Regions from separate parts of the Homo sapiens genome. Here regions 1, 2 and 3 are each linked to region 4. Evidence: promoter capture Hi-C in 16 types of primary human blood cells and fetal thymus (Javierre and others, 2016). All regions are on one chromosome and are shown on one strand. Each heading gives the region's core, a stretch centred on a gene start or on the middle of the fragment in contact. The rest is flanking DNA. Distances are from core to core; before and after follow the strand shown.

What was found. Contacts are between HindIII fragments. The CHiCAGO score rates a contact against its expected background, and 5 or more counts as called.
Region 1: a contact is called between a fragment that was not itself captured here and the fragment with the promoter of ADGRB3-DT in region 4, in 1 of 17 cell types (M2 macrophages). The highest score is 7.3, in M2 macrophages.
Region 2: a fragment that was not itself captured here is called in contact with the fragment with the promoter of ADGRB3-DT in region 4 in 1 of 17 cell types (M0 macrophages); the score reaches 5.2 in M0 macrophages.
Region 3: a contact is called between a fragment that was not itself captured here and the fragment with the promoter of ADGRB3-DT in region 4, in 1 of 17 cell types (endothelial precursors). The highest score is 5.4, in endothelial precursors.

What each region holds. Positions count from the first base shown.
Region 1 is chr6:70,113,496-70,116,283 of GRCh38, reverse strand. All of the region lies in intron 16 of COL19A1 (collagen type XIX alpha 1 chain), which reads right to left. Among named protein-coding and RNA genes, the nearest start is that of COL9A1, 190 kb to the left of the region's middle. The HindIII fragment of the contact is 4,286 bases long and covers 1-2,788 here.
Region 2 is chr6:69,810,804-69,813,503 of GRCh38, reverse strand. No RefSeq gene overlaps it. Among named protein-coding and RNA genes, the nearest start is that of LMBRD1, 15 kb to the right of the region's middle. The HindIII fragment of the contact is 486 bases long and covers 1,175-1,660 here.
Region 3 is chr6:69,728,233-69,730,932 of GRCh38, reverse strand. The region is part of intron 7 of LMBRD1 (LMBR1 domain containing 1); the gene reads left to right. Among named protein-coding and RNA genes, the nearest start is that of LMBRD1, 67 kb to the left of the region's middle. The HindIII fragment of the contact is 236 bases long and covers 1,135-1,370 here.
Region 4 is chr6:68,632,898-68,635,597 of GRCh38, reverse strand. It overlaps ADGRB3-DT (ADGRB3 divergent transcript), which reads left to right and starts at 1,274. Exons shown (of 2, transcript NR_125872.1): 1 at 1,274-1,413; 2 at 2,542-2,700. ADGRB3 (adhesion G protein-coupled receptor B3) reads right to left here and starts at 316. Exons shown (of 32, transcript NM_001704.3): 1 at 1-316. RefSeq lists a silencer at 368-577. The HindIII fragment of the contact is 3,749 bases long and covers 114-2,700 here.

The DNA of each region.
Region 1 (2,788 bases), core at 235-2,734, 1.5 Mb before region 4:
AGTTAGAAATGGTATCAAACAGAGCAAAGGGCTTGCTTCTTCCAAATTTATAAAAGACAAGACCAACAGATTTAGATTAACCTAAGAATGTGGCTAGTTAATTGAAAGCATAGTTATAGTGAGCTCCAGTTAAGTAGAAAAGAGCTCATGGATGGATTTTTGGACCAGAATTACAACATATAAGTTGTAAAGTAATTCTGGGGGAAAAAATCAATAATGTTCTTTAGATAGAAAATATTGGGGGACTCAATTTCTTTTTTTAAAAAAGACACACATCCTTTTCTCTGTCTTAATATTTACTCAAAATGAAATTTTTTTCAGTGTCTCTTGGGGTTTAATTACATAAATTAAGCAGTTATAATTGTAATGGATTTTTTTTCTGAGAATGCTTCTGTTGAGAATTTTTAGTGACTAAAGGGATACCAACACCTTCTCCCCACCAAAAAAAAAAAAAAAAACAAAACACCAAAAAACAAAACAAAAAAAACAACAACTGCTAGAAACTCTTGAACTATAAAATGTGATTCCTAAAGCCAAGAGCAGATTCAGTGAGTATTTATATTATTCTTACATTTCAATATAGAGACCTCAAGCTCTCATACTTGGGATTAAATGGGTCACCCTAGAGAACATGGGCCACATATAGGTGAAATTTAAAGGTTCCTGGGAGGAGGTCTTTTTCCTTCAAATATCTTGCCTGCTCTCCAGGTTATGCCCAAAATGTCCTAACAAAAGTCTTATTTTTTTTGATGTTAGGTTTTACTGCCAGATCAAATGCAAATGTTCCTGGGAGATATAATACTAAAGGTTCATGTTTTCACAGCTCTGGATAATTCTAAAAGTATTTTCACTTATATTTTCTTGGGTGGTAGGGTAATGTGACTGTAAAATGCATTATCTTATTTGATTCTTATAATAACCAACTGAAGTGGGTAGTATTATATTTTCCATTTAACAGATGGGAAAACCAAGAGATTTTTCCCCAAACCACATGAATGGTAGAACCAAGTCCAAAATCATTCCATTCTAATAGATTCATGTGAATTGTTCATTACATATTTCCCAAGAGCAAGGCGGGTAGGACAGGAAAGGAGAAGAATAAAGGGATGGCCCTTGGGGGCTAAGGACAGGAGAAGACAGTACCAAGTAGGAAAGGGAGGCTGAGGACTCTGCAGACTGCATCTCTGCCTCCACCACCGTTAGGCTGAGGGCTTTCACTTTCTGGAAAGAGGCTTTGAGAAATGACTTGTGAGCCAAGTCTTCAGGTTAACTTGGATTGTAAGTGGTGGGGACTCAAATGGAAATAAGCTCAGGGAAAATTCATGTTTCAGTGCTAATCTGATGGACCTGTTTCATTCATTGGTCAATACAAAAGAATACAGTTATGAAACTTAAATGCTCTCAATTTAAAAGAGATGTTTTCAAGTGTGTTTGTTCACATTGAAAATAGAATCTAATGAGTTTTTCCAGATGATGAATATGTATATGCATATATTTAGGCCAACATTCTTAGATGGATGAAGTTTCTCTATAAAGACTTTAACAGAGGAAAATAGGAAGGAGGGGAGCCAAGCAGATAGAAGAAAAATTTACATGCAGGTGATAATAAAAGAGAAAAAATATCAACCCTTTTGCTTTGGAAATGTCAGTTCCTAAATCCTGGGAAAGAAAGACAAAAATAATGAGAAGATGGCAAATAATGATTAAATGAGGATAATGATAACAAAAATATTAATAAATAACAATAGTTACCCTTTGAAAGTGACAACTGTGTGAGGTACATGCATTATTGCATTTAGCTCTTACAGCAGCCCAGTGAGGTGGTGTTTCCTTATTTTACACATAACAAAAGACTAAATATCTGACTCAAGGTCATATAAATAGTAGACAAGAGCTAGGTTTCAACTCAGGTCTGTCTGACCCCACTGCCTTGATCTTTTAACTCTTTCCCCTAAACCACCTCACAGTGAGAAGGATGATGGGAAAATAAAATACCAATCATCTTAAAGCTGGTTTTTAAACAATCGAGCAGGGCATCGTGTGGTGAAAGATCACAGGATTAATGAGGTATACAATCACTAAGGGCCAAGAAAAGAATGGTCTGAGACTTGGTGTAGACATGCCTTTTGAAAGGGCTGGGCACAGTGGCTAACACCCACAATGCTAGCACTTTGGGAGGCCAAGACGGGCAGATTGCTTGAGCTCAGGAGTTCGAGACCAGCTTGGGCAACATGGTGAAACTCTGTCTCTACTAAAATACAAAAAATTAGCAGGGCATGTTAGCGTGCACCTGTAGTCCCAGCTACTTGGGAAGCTGAGGCAGGAGAATTGCTTGAACCCAGAAGGCAGAGGTTGCAGTTAGCTGAGATCACGCCACTACACTCCAGCCTGAGTGACAGAGCAAGACTCCATCTCCAAAAAAAAAAAAAAAAAAAAAAAAAGAAAGACTTGGATGACAAGAAGAGTCAAGAGGAAAGTGACCAGAATGGGAGAGGGGTAAGGATAAGAGAGAGGAACAACACAGAGACACAAGGAAGTTCAAAATCATGGAGGGCTTCTACTAGAAAGAGAGCAGGAGAAAGAAAGATCAGAGTTAGGCTGAGATGGAAAAGGAAGGAAGTTAACAATCTCAACCAGCATCTTAAATAACTTTTGAGGTTTCAATAATGCCAAATGAAGGGCAAGGAGCCTTCGCGCTTATAAGATGGTGGAAGAAAAGAAAAAATAAATATAGTCAAAGGAGGTGGAATAAAATACTAGCTAATCAAGAGAGTATATTGCTTGGGGA
Region 2 (2,700 bases), core at 168-2,667, 1.2 Mb before region 4:
CTGATAATCAAACTTAAATTCATGTGTTCAGTGAGACAAAGCAAGAACCTTTCTTAGGGGGCTGCTGCCTGCTCCCCTTGCCAAACATGGAAATAAAGAAAAATATTGAATTCCTTTAAGGGAACTTCCAGACACCTGGTTAGCCCTAAGAAGTAAATGAGCAACTTGATAAGCAAGAAGGCAAGAGTAGCTTAAAACTATAGCCAAGGGAATTAGAGTTCTGAGATGTTTGGTTTCCTTGTAACTGCTCAACGGATTCACCTTGCCCACTGCTTAGACAGAGACGATTTATGAAGAGAGGGGAACTGCAAGGCAGAACGACTAAGTCACACAGAGCCATCTGTGCAGGAGACTGGAGTTTTATTATTACTCAAATCAAATATCCTTGAGCATTTGAGGATCAGAGTTTTTAAAGATAATTTGGCAGGTAGGGGCTTGAGAAGTGGGGAGTGCTGATTGGTCAGGTTGGAGATGGAACCATAGGGGGTCGAAGTTGACTTTTTCTTGCTGTTTTCTGTTCATCTGGGTGAGATGGTAGAACTGGTTGAGCCAGATTACTGGTCTGGGTGGTGTCTGCTGATCCATCCAGTGCAGATTCTGCAAAATATCTCAAGCACTGATCTTAGGTTTGCAATAGTGATGTTATCCCCAGCAACTTGGAGCCAGAGGCTGCATGCCCCTAAACTGTAATTTCTAATCTTGTAGCTAATTTGTTAGTCCTGCAAAGGCAGACTGGTACCCAGGCAAGGAAGGGGTCTTTTCAGGAAAGGTCTATTATCAATTTTGTTTCAGAATCAAGCCATGAACTGAATTCCTTCTCAAAATTAGTTTGGCCTATCCTCAGGAATGAAGAAGGACAGCTTAAAGATTAGGAGCCAGATGGAATCAGTTAGGTGTGATTTCTGTCACTGTCATAATTTCCTCAGTTATAATTTTGCAAAGGCGGTTTCACCCTGTAGAAACTAAAGAGAACATCAGAATATATGTCCCTGAGTTGTTTCTTAGAAGCTGGTACCCCCACCAAATGGATTCCCTGGCATGTAGACCTCAAATAAGAGGTAATTGAGGACTGAACTCTTGCTTTAAATTTCTTCCTGAGGGGCATGGAGGAAGTCACGCCCACAGGCCAGACTTAATATTTCTTTCTTCTGATCCCAAATTTTTAAACAAAGCTTCTCTTCTTTAACCAATTGCAAGTCAGAAAATCTTTGAAATCCAGTTATGACCTGGAAGCACCCTGCCCCACCTGACTCTGCTTCCACCTTTGTAGGCCAAACCAATGTATCACCTCTATGTGTTGATTTATAGTTTTGCCTATAACTTCTGCTTTCCTGAAATTTACCTCTGCCTTTAAACACCCTTGCTTGCAAGCCATCTGGAAGTTTGGGTCTTACATTTCAGCTGCCCAATTATCCTTGCTTGGTACCCTACTAATAAAGGCCCTCCTTTCTCCTGCTGCAAAGCAACCTCGGTATGAATATTTGGCCTTACTGCACTGGGCAATGGGACCCCTGTTTGGTTTAGTAACATAAGAGTGGCCCACGCCTTTTCTACGTTTCTTAGAAATGAGTTCAAATCTGAGTCACTTCTGCAGAAATCACCATTGACCTTATCCTCTCTATTTAACTTTTTCATTATTCCACCCCTTTTTAGTCAAGCTTCCTGAAAGAATATTTTACATTCATGACCTCCGTTTTCCTAATTCTCCTTCATTCCTCTAAGCCAGTGCAACTTGTCTGCTTCCTATCCACTCCAGTGGAATTATTCTAGAAAATTCGTTAATGACCCCCCCACTCATGTTGCCATACTCGGTGGGCACTTGCTAGTCCTCTCACTATATTTGGTATTGACAGCTACTCATTAGTTTTAAAAAGTATCTTCTCTCTTTGTTTATATGATGTATTCTGATTATTAGTTCTAACCACTCTTTTCCTTTTATTCTCTCCTTAAAGTTTGCTGTTTTTTTAGGGTTGTCTATTTAGCTGACTATTATTCTCACTTCTACCAATTTTTCCTGGGAATTTTTTGCATTTTCATTGCTTCAGCTTTTACTTGAGTATAGATGACTCATACCTCTGTGGCAGGTCCCTTGGCTGAGTTTCCCGCCTATACATTCTATGAACTAGAGCTATCCGTGTTCCTCAGGCACCTCAAATCCAAGGTACCAAATAAAATCTACTACCTTGTTTCCTTCACTCTAAGGTGACATTGACTGTAAGATGCACCATCATTTTATAAATGATGAAGAACAAAATATACCAGTTATAGTGGTAAGATCCCATCAATTTAAAGGTGAGTCCTAACATCAGAGATGTTAAAATGTAAAGGAGAAAAGTGCATCTTAGAATCTATGAAATACAGTTTATTTCTGTCATTCCTCACCCTTAATCTTCTCTTCTTCGTATGTTCCCTGTCTTCATTAGTGGCATCATCATTCTCCACATCTCTCAATTTACAATTCTGAAAAGCATCTCTAATGTTAACTCGGCTTGGCTATAATAATCAACTATTCAAATGCTATGTGTTGCCGTGAAGGTATTTTGTAGACATGATAAATATCTACAATCAGTTGACTAAGTACAGTTGACCCCTGAATAAGTTAGGGGTTAGGGATGCTGAATCCCCATGCACTTGAAAATCTGCCTATAACTTTTGACTCTCCAAAAACTTAACTAGTAATAGCCTTCTATTGACTGGAAT
Region 3 (2,700 bases), core at 3-2,502, 1.1 Mb before region 4:
TTAAGATGTTTTGCTGTTGTTTCTTGTCTTGCCATATAGAAGGGAATCCTTTTGCATATACCTAAGCAGAAAAATGCTTCTCTTTTGGATATCTTCCTTTCTTAAGCTTATGAAGCACTTGACTGTTGCTTTTTAAGAAAATACAGAATTATGCCCATTATTCTAATGAATATTTTCTTTACTACCGATGCATCTTCATTCTCTTTCTCCTGACTTACACATTAACTTTTTGCTTTAATGTCAAATCATATTATCTTTTAAGACATAAGTGGCAATTAAACTCAATAATTGTACCAAGAATGCATGTAATTCAACTGAAGTGACTGTAATGTAACTTGCTGTGACCAAATTTGTGAATGTGCATGTAGCGACAACTATGTCATGGCTTCTGCCTAGCCTTCAATTATATGATGCCTTCAATTTTTAGATGCATCCAAATTTCACTGATATTAAATGTAAGAAAATATATACGTCTTAGACTCAGTGAATACTTAAAAGGAAAGTCTTGAGTACCTGTGTTGTTTCATTAATCATAATAACATGTACATCTTTGAATAATAGATTTCACAAATATGTGGAAGACATTTATTAAGTCTACAGGTAGTATTTAGTGTTGACCCTTTACAATAATCTAAGGCCTGCAGAGTTGGAAACCAGCATTCCAGATAAAGGAGAGAGATATGTAAAGAAAACGTGCCCTTCTAAACTGAGCGGTAAAAGAAGTTATTAGGAATGTAGTTTGTATATATTATTTTAAAACATTTTAGTTTTCAAATACAGTTGGTGATTTATTCTTGGAAGTCAAAATAAATTTGGAGACAATTAGGGCCAACCTATTAATAGAAGCATTTTAAACTATACAATCTCTTTAGTTTTCTGATTTTTTTTTCTGGAAATTCACTAGAGGGCAGTAGTAAGTAATAAAAGTTTTGTGTTTCTGAAAAGGATAGCCTTTTTGTACATTAAAAAAAAAGTCTGAAGTGAAGTTCGTGAAGTTCAAAAGATTGTTGTTTAAAGACCTTAAAAGTTATAATGTTTTATATAAGGTCTATGTCAAGCTTATCATAATCTAAATATTGTAGTTAAATTTCCTGATAATTATTGAAAATGCAGTCCAAAAACAAGCTAAAAGCTTGGTAACCAAACGATGGCACCTTTCTTCTACGTTGTCTTCGGACAATTAAAAATTTAAAAATAGTGTTTTGTTCTGGTCTTATGTTACCGCAAGTTGTTACCAGAAACTTTTTTATTTTATAAAATATTTTAAATTAAGCTATTTAGAAATTCAGTTCAGCTCTTCTAATAAGTATATCAATTCCATTTAAGGAAATAACTTTGTGTGAATTAAGAGCTGTCTCTTCCTAAAAGCTTATTGGTCAATTATTATCTTCTTGGAGAAATTATTTTATTAATTTAATAATAAATGTTTGTTCTTGAAACAAAGGTAGGAGGAAAAAGAATTGGGACTTAGTCATTACATACCAGATAGTCTACTGTAGTTGTTATTAGTCTGGCCTAGAAATCTGTTCAGCCAAGTTTGGCAGATCTAGTGATAAAACAAATGTGCAGATGAATAATGTTAATATACCTATGCGTTATAATTGAGTTATAAGCAAGGGACATTTACAAGTCAGGGAAGGTTTCTCAGACGTATTGTAATTAAACCGAGACCTGAAGGGCATTAACAGTTGTTAATGAAATAAGATGAGAAGGTGGGCATTCTAGATGAGGGCACTACATGGAATAAAATGTGTATGTTGGACAAAGCCTAAAGTAGCATAAAATTGTAGTGTTTTAAGAACTATGAACAATTCAGAAGCATGAGATAAAGTTAACAAGTTGGTAGGGATCAGGTCATGAAGTGCTTTATATGTAGAATTACATTAATTAGAGTCTTTTCCCAATACCAACCAATAATTGTACCTTTCATAAAAAAAAAATAGCAAAACAACTTTTTAAAACAATTTTATATGTTCATATACATATAGAGGTTGGGAACAAGTAGAATTGCTCTGGTTAAAGTAGCAGCAGATTCCTGCATGGCTAGCTGCCTTATCTTCTGTAGTGGCCCTAGTGGCACCTTTCCAGATTCCTAGGAACTCATACCAGAATGCTTTGAAAAATACATTTATTAGTCCTGTAGAATCTTAAAGGATGTTAATTAGAGGAATGACATATATTGACTTGGGTATTAGAGTGAGATCACTTTAGAAACAGTGTAGAAGATGGATTTGTAGAAATTGAGACCAGCAGACCAGTTTAGGATAATTCAGAAGGCCTTGTGTTTGACAGTAGACTGTAAATAAGGGCCATGTTGTTAATACTGACTAGAGCAAAAGGTTCCTTGGGAAACAGTATCGAGTACTGCAGTTAGTGCATTCAGGGAACCTAATCCATCCAACACAGAATAACAAGCATTGAGGACAAATAGGCCTAGATTGGAGGTGGTTGAGGGGACAGGGAAACATACCTGCATATAAGCTGGGCTTAGCAAAATATTGCCATGGCATTTTGTTGTAAAAAGCAACATTCTTTTGGATTATGAAAATAATATGAATGATGTGGTTTGGCTGTCTGTCTCTACCCAAATCTCATGTTGAATTGTGATCCCGAGTGTCGGCGGTGTGGCCTGGTGGGAAGTGATTGGATCATCGGGGTAGTGTCTAATGGTTTAGCACCATCCTCGTAGTACTGTCTTGG
Region 4 (2,700 bases), core at 25-2,524:
AGAAAGCGCTGAGACGAGAAGTGACCGGCGGCGGCGGCGGCTGCTATGGCAGATTTGTTGGGGCGGTGGGTTTATTACAGGAGTATTCGTGGTCGGATCGGAAGGCTCAAGCTTATGCTTTTTCCTCTTTCCGCTTTCCTCCCTCCTCCTCCTCCCCCCTGCAGGTACTGATGGACGGACGGCGACTAAGGAGAGCGGGGAAAAAAATCCTTGGCTGGTGATGTCGGAAAGCTGTTTGAATGCCCAGCGAGGAGGGAGGCGCGAGAGGGAGCGAGATAGTAAAGCTCTGTCTCGGGTGTGCGCGCCGGCGCGCAGTGCTCGCTCTCCCTTGGGCGCGCGCGCGGGGGGTGCGCGTGTCCCGGGAGCGCGTCCGCGCGGCGGCCTCCCGCGTGCTCGTGTGCGCGCGCGTCCCGGGTGCCGCGCGCCCTTCTTATGCACAGCTGCGGTGCGCCCCGCCGCCCGCCAGAGGCTCGGCTCGCGCGGCGCGGCCGCTGCGACTTCCTGGAGTTCTGCCTGCCGGGGGCGCGGGCGGGTGTGTGAGAGAGAAGGCGAAGGGAGCCGCGGGGTGGGAGAGGAGGGAGTCCCGGCGGGAGGGCGGGGGAGAGGCTGGCGGGAGGGGGGCTCCACGGAGCTCCAGCCAGGGCCGCGGTTCGCCTGCACGTCACGGCTACTCAAACCCAAGCACGTCCCGAAAGCGGTATTTTCTGCGTCTGGGAGGTTTTTGCATCCTCAGTTCCCACCGCTGGGGCTGGCGGCGACCAACTGTAAGAGAAACTCACTGGGAGGCGAGGCAGGGGGGTGCGGAGGATGGGAAGGCGACTCTGAAGGGTGGGAAGTGAATGCTGGACTTGATCGTCTTTCTCTTTCTTTCAGCGCAGACCTGTCGCAGCCAGAGAGCTGTCATTTCAGTACCGGGATTCAGAATTGATCCAGTCCGCAGCGGAGGGGGCACATCCCAGCTACCGAGCTGCTGAGTGTCTCTGGCTGGAACAATAGTATTTTTTTCTCTGCGAGGCTGCAATTAACATCTTATTTGTTCTGGCTCCATACAGGCTTTGTCAGGATCGCGGTGCGGCGACCGACGTTGGGCTCTTGCATTGCTTTGTGCTTGGCAATGGAATCATGGTTTCGGGGTCTAAACTTTTGTTTCGTTTTGTAGTCTTAATGTATCTGATTCTTTTTCAAGTTTCCCTAGTAACAGGTTTGGGGACGGGGTGGGAAGAAGCGAGAAAAGGGGTGAAGAGAAAAAACCAGATTATATAGAAAGGAAAAAGGGAAAAGGGATGTTTCCCCACCTTTTAATCTAACTATCTATCTGTCTGTCTATCTATCATCATAGATAGTCATTTTGCCTCCTGGACAGTTGGCTGACGAAGTGTCTGATAAACCAGCTTCAGATACATGCTACAAAAGGTCATTCGCCTCCTGATTATGTTTCTACTTGTAAACGCAGTTGGTGGTTTGCAAAACAAGTGCTAAAATAGTGCAGTGATGTGGTGGGAGGAAACCATAATGGGTAATTCATATAAAGTGCTGGAATCTTCGTAAGGGTGAGTTTCTCGAGCGGCAGGTGAAGTTGAATAAAGCAATTTTCCATCATTTGTTCCCCTCACTCTTGCATTTTTTTCCTCCGCTTGTTTCTCTCCCCTGGGGCGATTATGGATAGCCAAGAACACCATTTTAAAAGAGATTGATAGTGAAAACAGGAAGTTTATGGTCTGTTATCCACTGGAGTTGTTTGAAATATTAAAATTGGTCCTTTACTTCTTAATGCATATTAATAGAGTGACCCTCTTCAAGGCTTTCCCGTCTTAAACGAATGCCTGGGATAAACACTGTAAGGGGAAACAGTTAATAATTCCCCAGCAGGCTTTAACTATTTTCCCAGTAACAAATCACCGGCAAGAGAGCAGCCTGGGTGGCATTTTGGTTTTGTGTCATTTTGGTTCTTTACAATATTTTTTATTCATTTAAGGAAATGTTAAAAGGAAATAATTAGGGTTTATGTCCAGAACAAATTTTGAAACACCGTTTAAGCAACACATTTTCTTTTAAAAACAAAGAACATTGAGCAACACAAAGGAGAAAAACATTTTATTTATTTCAACTTCCCTAGAGATCGTAATTATGATTTTCGCAAGGCAATTTGGTCAGTTCTGTTACTTTATCCAGAGGAAAAAAAAGCATGACAGATGTGGAATAAAAACGGAGGAAAAAATGCTTTGGATGGTTTATACATAAAAAGGAAAGAATGTAATGTGAGGTTCAGTTATACCTCTATTTTGCATCTAGTGATTTCTCATATTATCTTGTAACACTGATTTTGATGTTTCTTAGAAATTCTTAAAGTCATGACACAGTGGCATAAGAATAACAGCTGAAAGGGACAATTTAAAAGCCTAAATCCTAAATGGAAAGGTTCACTTACTCCCAGGATCATTTATATTCAAGTAGAAGTCAGGGCAGGGTCAGAAAAGAAAGCCACCCTTAATAAAGCGCTTCACCCTTCACATTGTTTCTCATAACCTTCATAAATTGCAGGCTACTGAGCTGGCCTGATGATGATCCTTCTGAGATATATTTATAGCAGATGATTTGTGGATGATAACTACGCCAAGCAAGACACTGTCTCCAGTAACCCCAGGCTCGTCTGACTTCCTCAGGGGATTATAATAAAGAATCACAAAAAGAACCCTATAT